Linked DNA regions of Homo sapiens: region 2 is linked to region 1. Evidence: promoter capture Hi-C in human tissues and cell types (Jung and others, 2019). All regions are on one chromosome and are shown on one strand. The core of a region is centred on a gene start or on the middle of the fragment in contact, and the rest is flanking DNA. Distances in the headings are between cores, read along the strand shown.

Region 1 (4,925 bases), core at 847-3,346:
GGAGGATTGCTTGAGCCCAGGAAGTTGAGGCTGCAGTGAGCCTTGATCACACCACTGCACTCCAGCCTGGGTGACAGACACCCTGTCTCAAAAAGTAAAAAATTAAAAAACAGTGGCAGTATTGTAGCTGCTATGCTATGAGTAGACTTTGCATCTACTGAGCTGGGTTTGAATCCTAGTTGTGCTGTTTGACTTAAGGCACATCTTACCTTCTCAACATGTTTTTTTTTTTTTTTTGAGATGTATTTTTTTCAGTGGGTTTTTGGGGAACAGTTGGTATTTGGCTATGTGAATAAGTTCTTTAGTAGTGATTTCTGAGATTTGGTGCCCATCACCCAAGCAGTGTACACTGTACCCAATGTGTAGTCTCTTATCCCTCACCCTGCTCCCACCCTTTCCCCCTCAACCTGTGTCTTCATCTGTACGTTAGGGATTATAACACCTATGCTGTGTGGCTATTATGAAAGCCTAAGGATCAAATAGGTGTTCAGTTCTTTGTACAGTGCTGAGCACATGGGTGATTTTTTTTTTCTTCTTAAGACAGGGTCTCACCGGGCGCGGTGGCTCATGCTTGTATTCCCAGCACTCTGGGAGGCTGAGGTGGGCGGATCACCTGAGGTCAGGAGTTCAAGACCAGCCTGACCAACATGGTGAAACTCCGTCTCTACTAAAAATACAAAAACCAGCTGGGTGTGGTGGGAGGTGCCTGTAATCCTAGCTACTCAGGAGGGTGAGGCAGGAGAATTGCTTGAACCCGGGAGGTGGAGGTTGCGGTGAGCTGAGATTGCACCATTGCACTCCAGCCTGGGCAACAAGAGTGAAACTCCATCTCAAAAAAAAAAAAAAAAAAAAATGGGCGTCTCACTCTGTCATCCAGGCTAGAGTGCAGTGGCACCACCACAGCTCACAGCTACCTCGACCTCCTGGGCTCAAGCGATCCTCACACCTCAGCCTCCTGAATAGCTGGGACTACAGGTGTGTGCCGCCACACCTGGCTATTTTTGTATTTTTTGTGGAGATGAGGTTTTCACCATGTTGCCCAGGGTGGTCTCAAACTCCTGGGCTCAAGCAATCCTCCTGCCTTGGCTTCCTAAAGTGCTGGGAATATAGGTGTGAGCCACTGCACCTAGCTGGGTGATTATTAATAATCATGATTGTTAATTATGTTCATGATTACAGGCGCGGTGGCTCACGCCTGTACTCCCAGCACTTTGGGAGGCCGAGGTGGGCGAATCACCTGAGGTCAGGAGTTCAAGACCTGCCTGACTAACATGGAGAAACCTCATCTCTACCAAAAATACAAAATTAGCTGGGTGTGGTGGTGCGTGCCTGTAATCCCAGCTACTCGGGGGGCTGAGGCAGGAGAATTGCTTGAACCCGGGAGGCGGAGGTTGCAGTGAGCTGAGATCGTGCCATTGCATTCCAGCCTGGGCAACAAGAGCGAAACTCCGTCTCAAAAAAAAAAAAAAAATTATGTTCATGGGAAAGCACTTTTCCTAACAAGCCCTTTTCTCACTACATGTAGCGTTTGTGCTCCCACTTCAGTTACTTGTCTTTAGGCATGACCTTTAATCTCTCTGAACCAGTTTCCTCATTTTAAGAATTGAAATGCTGGCTGGGCCAGTGGCTCACGCCTGTAATCCCAGCACTTTGGGAGGCCAAGGCGAGATGACTGCTTGAGTCCAGGAGTTCGAGACTAGCCTGGGCAACATAGTGAGGCCACCTCCCCGCTGTCTCTATAAAAAAATCTAGAAATTAGTCCCACGTGGTGATGTGCGCCTGTAGTCCCAGCTGCTTGGGAGGCTGAGGTGGGGGGATCGCTGAAGCCGGGAGGTCAAGGCTGCAGTGACCCGTGGTCATGCCGCTGCACTCTAGTCTGGGGACACAGTGAGACCCCGTATCAAAAAGAAAAATGCTGCCTATTTCAAGGTTGTAGCAAAGCTAAGTTTGAACAGAGCAAAGGAAGCGCCATAGAAGCTGCACTACTTGCTCATGTCACAGCTGGGGAATGGGGTGGTCGAATGGGGAGGTCCACTGTCGCAATGTTCCAATTCCCGCCCAGAGGGAGGGACCTCCCCTTCGAGGGAGGGCGCCGGAAGTGACGCGAGGCTCTGCGGAGACCAGGAGTCAGACTGTAGGACGACCTCGGGTCCCACGTGTCCCCGGTACTCGCCGGCCGGAGCCCCCGGCTTCCCGGGGCCGGGGGACCTTAGCGGCACCCACACACAGCCTACTTTCCAAGCGGAGCCATGTCTGGTAACGGCAATGCGGCTGCAACGGCGGTGAGTGCTGAGCCGGTGACCAGCACACTTTGGGCTTCTGGACGAGCCGTGCAGCGATTGGCCCCAGGTTGCCATCCTCAGTCGTCTATTGGTCAGAACGGCTATCTTTTTTTTTTTTTTTTTTTTTTTTTTTTTGGTCCGAGTAGCTTTTAAAGGGCCAGTAGCTCGGTTGCCCTCCGGAAGGAATGGGGAAATCAGAGAGCGGTGATACTGGGTTAAGAGTGGAAGGATTGTTTGGAACGGAACTCCGGTCCCTGCGGGCATCTGGGTGGGATTCCCATCAGGCCTGGGATGCACGGCTCTAGATTTAGTGACCCAGACCAAGAACGTTCGTCTACACAGACGGGGTCCTTTCATTCGAGGCTGGGCTGAGGCGGATGCAGATACGGCCCCTTTGGGAAGACACGTTCCACTTTTGATTCATAGGAGAGAGTATCAGCCAAGCCTCCGAACTGCACACAAACGTCTTAGAAGTGCGCCTTCTTTTTGTGTTATAGTGGTCTCCCAGCCACAGCCAACGCTCCAAGTCCCCAGCTGTGACACACCTACTGAATTACTACCGTGGGTGGGAGGCCGCCGTGGGCCTTTCCATTACGAGCCTGCTTGCCGAGCCCTGGGCTTGTGCACAGACAAACTGCAGAGCTGGTGGAGGCCACTGCCAGGCCGAGATAAGAAAGAGATGGGGAGCTGCTAATCTCCCCCTGTCCAGCCTGTTGGTGAGGGCTGGGATCTTTGCTCTTGCAGTCATTCCAGAGCCCTGGACTAGGAGTAGGAAGATCTGAATTGTGGCCCCAACTCTCTTTCGGTTATTAGCTCTGTGACCCTAGGCAAGTCACCTCATCCCTTGATGCCACCCGTTGCTTCTGTAACATGGTCCCAAAGGTGCCTGTCTTGTCCACCTGATAGGATTTTTGAGACGACAACAATATGCAAAAGCAATAGCTTCAACATAGAAGTGCTCAGTGTTTTATTTTTTAATGAAACGGTTTGACTTGGATATGCTGTGCACATTCAATGAACTTAAGGAATTGTTTGAACCTAGTAGTTCTGGGACCTTAGAGTCCTTTCTGTGGGCTCCCTGTGGCCCAGAATTTTGGTGGCCACGTTTAATATCAAGCCTAGCCTAATTTGCAAAGGGTCTCCCAGGGTTAATTTATTGGAGTGATCACATGGAGTAGACCAGAGTCTGAGGGCAGAAAGCTGTCACCTGCTTCGGCAATAGAGGCCCCAGATGTCTGGGTGCAAAAGAACTCCATAGCACCCCGACCAACATGGTGAAACCCCGTCTCTACTAAAAATATAAAAATTAGGCCGGGCACAGTGGCTCATGCCTGTAATCCTAGCACTTTGGGAGGCCGAGGCAGGTGGATTGCCTGAGCTCAGGAGTTCGAGACCAGCCTAGGGAACACAGTGAAACCCCGTTTCTACTAAAAATACAAAAAATTAGCCGACGTGGTGGCATGCGCCTGTAGTCCCAGCTACTTGGGAGGCTAAGACAGGAGAATCGCTTGAACCTGGGAGGTGGAGGTTGCACTGAGCCGAGACCGCGCCATTGCACTCCAGCCTGGGTGACAGAGCGCGACTCCCCCTCAAAAAAAGAAAAAAAAAAAAAATATATATATATATATACACACACACACATATTTTAGCTGGGCATGGTGGTGTGCGTCTGTAGTAGTCCCAGCTACTTGGGAGGCTGAGTCAGGAGAATCGCTTGAACCTGGAAGGCAGTGGTTGTAGTTAGCTGAGAACATGCCACTGCACTCCAGCCTGGGCAACAGAGGGAGACTCTGTCTCAAAAAAAAAAAAAAAAGGAACTACATAGGATGAACATCCCAGATCAGGGAATGTTGACTGTCGACAGTATCAGTATCTACAGTGGCTACTGTCTGATGTAGAAAGAAATGGGATCAGGCTAGGCGTGGTGGCTCACGCCTGTAATCCCAGCACTTTGGGAGGCTGGGGCAGGAGGATCACAAGTTCGAGACCAGCCTGGCCAACACAGTGAAACCCCGTCTCTACTAAAAATGTGAAAATTAGCTGGGCATGGTGGAACATGCCTGTAGTTCCAGCTTGAACCCAGGGGTGGAGGTTGTAGTGAGCCTAGATCACGCCACTGCACTCCAGCCTGAGCAAAACAGTGAGACTCTGTCTAAAAAAAAAAAAAAAAAAAGAGAGAAATGGGACCTCCGTCTTAGACTGAAGAATTCAGTTCTACGTGCTTAGCAGTGAATACTTTTGTCCAAGGTACTCTGGCAGGAGGAAGAGGCGTGTCCTCTTGAGTTCTTGACTTGGGCTCTGGCCTGTTAATATTTCCATGTTGGTGAAACCAGAGGCAGCACTCTAGGTGCACGAACTTTAGGCAGCGCAGCCTCCTAGTCTTATGGAACATCTGAGGCAGAAGAAACCTGAGTCCAACCTTTTCATTTTATAGATGAACAAACAGATCCTGGTGGGACAGTGTACCCAAGGTCACCCAGCCAAGAGGCTGAGCAGGACTGTACGTCAGATCCGTTTACCTCAGTCCTTAATGCATGCAGTCCAGCCAGATTAAGGGACCCTTAATACTGTCAGCTTTCCCCACTGTGGGATCTTCATCCTCTTGACTTCTTTTGTAGCCAGACATCTGGGCCTCTTGCTGGA
Region 2 (4,835 bases), core at 889-3,388, 160 kb after region 1:
ACTGCCAGTTTATCATCAGGTGACAGGGCACTTCATTTTGGAGAAACACTCTGCCAGTTATGCAAGTCTGAATAGCCATAGTTAGTCTATTCATCATTCTTTCAAGTAAAAATGATGTTCCATACCGTACATGAAAACACAGTTAATAACTTGATGGTGAAAGACTGAAAGCCTTCCCTTTAAGATCATGAAGCAGACAAGATAGCCTACTTTTGCCACATCTCATCAACGTGGTACTAGACGTTCCAGCCAGAGCAATTAGGCAAGGAAAAGAAAAGAAGCCTAATTGCTCTGCTGCAACTTCTAAGAAAAGATAGGAAAAAGAGCCATTTCCATTTGCATGTGACATAATTCTGTATGTAGAAAATTCTAAAGAATCCATTAAGAAAACACTAAAGCCAATAAATGAGTTCTGCAAAGTTGCAGGACACAAGATCAATATACAGAAATCATTTGCCGGGTGTGGTGGCTCACGCCTGTGATCCCAGCACTATGGGAGGCCGAGGCAGACGGATTGCTTGAGGTCAAGAGTTCAAGACTAGCCTGGCCAACATGGTGAAACCCTGTCTCTACTAAAAATACAAAAATTAGCTGGGTGTGGTGATGGGGGCCTGTAATCCCAGCTATTTGGGAGGCTAAGGCAGGAGAATTGCTTGAAACCCGGCAGGCAGGGGTTGCAGTGAGTCGAGATCATGCCACTGCACTTCAACTTGGGTGACAGAGCAAGGGTCCGTCTCAAATAAAAATTATAGTTTTATACATAAGGAATGAACAATCCAAAAATAAAATTAAGAAAATTCCATTTGCAGTAGTATCAAAAATAATAAAATACTTAGGAATAAAATTAAGGAGGCAAAAGACTTGTACACTGGAAACTACAAAACATTGCTGAAAGAAACTAAAGAAGACCTAAATAAATGGAGAGACATTCTGTGTTCATGGATTATAACTTAGAATTGTTAAGGTTGCAGTATTCCCCATGTTGATACACAGTCATTGCAATACCTATCAAAATTCCAGTAGCACTTTTTTCAGAAGCTGACTAGTGGATTTTAAAAGTCATAAAAAATCTTAAGGGACCTCAAATAGCCAAAACAATCTTGAACAAGAATAAAGTTGGAAGACTTGTATTTCTGATTTCAAAGCTTTACTGCAAAGCTGCAATAATCAAAACATTGTGGTACTGGTATAAGGATAGACATACAGACCAGTAGACTAGAATTGAGAGCCCAGAAATAAACCCTCATACATATGGTCAATCGATACTTTTTTGACAAGCTTCTCAATGGAGAAACAACAGTCTTTTCAACAAATGGTGCTGGGAAAACTAAATTATCACATTCAAAAGAATGAAGTTGGATCCTTTCCTTATGTTGCATATAAAAATCCTGCAGAAGGATGGGCCAAAAAAATGAAAACAAACAACTCTCAAAATGTATCAAAGACCTAAATTTAAGAACTAAAATACAAAATTTGTAGAAGAAACATAAGTGAAAATCTTCATGAATCTTGGATTAGGCAATGATTTCTTAAGTATGACACCAAAAGCATAAAGATAGATAAATCAGACTTCATGAAAATTAAGAACTTTGTTCATCAAAGGACATATTAAGGAAGTGAAAAGGCAGCACACAGAATGGGTCAAAATATTTACAAGTTATATATTTGATAAGGGATCAACATCCAGAACATGTAAAGAACTTCAAAACAACAACAAAACAAACCAATTCAAAAATGCTCAAAAGTTTTGAATAGATTTTTCTTCAGAGAAGATATACAGCTGTCCAATAAGCTCATGAAAGGATGCTCAACATCATTAAATCATTAAGGAAATGCAAATCAAAACCACAATGAGATACCACTTCACAGCTGTTAGGTGGATATTATTTTAAGAATAAAACCCTCATGCATTGGTGATAGGAATAGAAAATGGTACAGCCACTGTGGGAAACAGTTTGGCAGTTCTTTAGAAAGCTGAACATAGAATTACCATAGGATCTAGCAGTTCTTCTAGGTACATACCCCAAAGAATTGAAAGCAAGGACTTGAACAGATATTTGTACACCCATGTTCATAGCAGCAGTTTTCACAACAGCCAAAAAGTAGAAGCAGTTCAAGTGTTCAGCAGATGAGTGGGTGAAGCAAATGTGTTATAGCCATATGGTGGAATATTATTCACTCATAAAAAATGAAATTTTCGACTGGGCGTGGAGGTTCATGCCTGTAATCCCAGCACTTTGGGAGGCCAAGCAGGGCAGAACACTTGAAGTCAGGAGTTTGAGACCAGCCTGGCCAACATGGAAAAACCCCATCTCTACTGAAATACAAAAATTAGCTGGGCATGGTGGCACACGCCTGTAATCCCAGCTAGTTGGGAGGCTGAGGCAGGAGAACCGCTTGAACCCAGGAAGCAGGGTTCGCAGTGAGGTGAGACGCCACTGCACTCCAGCGTGGGTGACAGAGTGAGACTCGGTCTCAAAAAAAAAAAAAAAATGCTGTGGGCACATTATAGAGAATTGAAATCAAATAACAAAAGGGAAAGGAAAGTGACTAATATTGCTATTATTTTGGTACAGTTTCTTTCTTTCTTTCTTTTTTTTTTTTTAATTGAGACAGGGTCTCCCTTTATCTCCCAGGTGGTATGATCATGACTCACTGCAGTCTCAGCCTCCTGGGCTCAAGTATCGATCCTCCCACCTAAGCTTCCCAAGTTGCTGAGAATACAGGCACACACTACCATACAGACTAACTTATTTTTTTGTACAGATACAGCCTCATTATGTTGCCCAGGCTGGTCTCAAACTCCTGGGCTCAAGTGATCCTCCTACCTTACTCAGCTTCCTAGAGTGCTGGGATTTTAGATGTGAGCCACTGTGCCTGGCTTTTGTCTGCTAATTCTGTCATCTTTGTCACTCATAGATTTAATTCTATTGGTTTATTTTTATCCTCAGTAAGAGTCATATTTTTCTGTTTCAGTCCATGCTGGGCAATTTTTGAGTGGATGCCAGACATCGTTAATCTTACCTTGTTCTACACTGGATTCTTTTATATTATAAATACTCCTAAGCTGTGTTCTGGGACACAGCTATGTTACATGGAATAGTTTGATCCTTTTAAACCTTGTGAGGCAGGACCAAAATGACCTTTAATCTAGGGTAAATTTCCCCTGATGTCCATTGAATTGTAAGATTTTTTTCCTCTCTTGTCCTTGTGTGAGATCTAGGGATTATTCCCTCTACCCCTTTCAGGTGGTTCTTTCCCTAGCTTCAGGTATTTTCCTGTGTTGATCAGTGCTTAGCTGAAGACTTAGAAGGTCCCCTCTGTAGCTCTTCAAAGCTGGGCTTTCTTTATGCATCTCTCTCCTCTCTTGTATTTTGCACTGTGAACTCCAGATGCCTTGGCTTTCCCAGGCCCCAAATTCTGTCTTCTCAACCCAGAGTGACCGTCAAGTCTGCCTGAATTCCCTTTCTAGTGCTGAGACATGAAAACTCTCCAGGCAGTAAGTTAGATCAATCACAGGGCTTGCCTTATTTGTTTTCCTTTTTCAGGGGGTCCCTGTCCGCTATTGCCTGGTGTCCAGTTTGTGAAAATTATTTCAGGTGCACCAGCTCATGTCTGTAATCTCAGCACTTTCAGAGGCTGGAGGTGGGTGTATTCCTTGAGGCCAGGACTTTGAGACCAGCCTGGCCAACATGGTAAAACCCCGTCTCTACTAAAAATACAAAAATTAGCCGGGTGTGGAGGTGCGCGCCTGTAATTCCAGCTACTCAAGGGGCTGAGGCAGGAGTATCACTTGAACTTGGGAGGCAAAGGTTACAGGTAGCCAAGATCACACCACTGCACTACAGCCTGGGTAACAGAGCAAGACTCTGTCTCAAAAATAAAAAAATATTTTAAATATTTTGTCTAATTTTTTTAGTTCTTTCAGGTGAGAGAGTAAATCCAGTCCTTGTAGTTCCATCTTGGATGAAAGAAGTTGTCCCAGTCTAAAATTTAATTTGGGGTACTTCCAAATTCTGGTGCAATTAATATTTATCATGTGCTTGCTGTGTGCCTGATATATTCAAAACTCAACCTATCCTTCTTCCCTTACTCCCTACCTCACTATACACGTTAGTTGAGCACTTTCTCTGTGTCAGGTATTCTGTATTCATTGTGGAGCTAAATAACCTGGCCTTTGCCTTTATGTAAGGACAGTATTTTTCTCTTTAGAGTTGTGGACACCGAGGCTCAGAGAGTTAGATTAACATACGTTTACCAGCCTCTCTTCCTTAGAAACACACAATGGTTCAACCCAAAAAAAAGATAAGATAAGTCTGCCTTTACCCAAGGTTTTCAAAATGTTAATGAGCAGTTCTGTTTTGTTTGAATGTAAAGGAATGGTGACTGTTTCATTTCATATTACAGAAGTGATTCTTTGGAGGCCATACTTCAAACATCATATAAAGTAGTAAACTACATAAATTTAAGAGAAGTTACACATGTCTTAATAACCTAATAACCATGCCTTTTGGACACAAAAATATTCAGTAGTGTGATTTACAGCAGGATTATATGTTCACATAACGAGAGTTTCACTCCTGAAATTTCTAATGGAACATAGGCTAGATGATGCAGAGAGAGGAATTACAAAGAAACCCTCCTGCACCCACCCCCAAGAATCAGTGATAACTTTTGTAAAACTACGGTATTATAGAGAAGTAGGCTGTGAATGTCAAGTAGAAAGTGCAGAAGCTTTTTCCAATCACTTTACTCTAATATTGCCAACCAAGACTTGCTCTAAAACCATAATACTTGTGAAGTCTACAACTGCATTTAAATTAGGACATCTTAAA

Evidence for each region. The method cuts DNA at HindIII sites, captures the fragments that hold promoters and counts their contacts. A contact is called where the count stands out against the background at its distance.
Region 2: a contact is called between a fragment that was not itself captured here and the fragment with the promoter of HMBS in region 1, in 1 of the 25 tissues and cell types used here (spleen).

The regions. Positions count from the first base shown.
Region 1 is chr11:119,082,785-119,087,709 of GRCh38, forward strand. HMBS (hydroxymethylbilane synthase) reads left to right here and starts at 2,097. Exons shown (of 14, transcript NM_000190.4): 1 at 2,097-2,282. The coding sequence starts at 2,250. RefSeq lists enhancers at 1,698-2,395, 2,325-2,374. The HindIII fragment of the contact is 11,043 bases long and covers 1-2,616 here.
Region 2 is chr11:119,247,075-119,251,909 of GRCh38, forward strand. The region is part of intron 2 of CBL (Cbl proto-oncogene); the gene reads left to right. Among named protein-coding and RNA genes, the nearest start is that of CBL, 43 kb to the left of the region's middle. The HindIII fragment of the contact is 3,159 bases long and covers 560-3,718 here.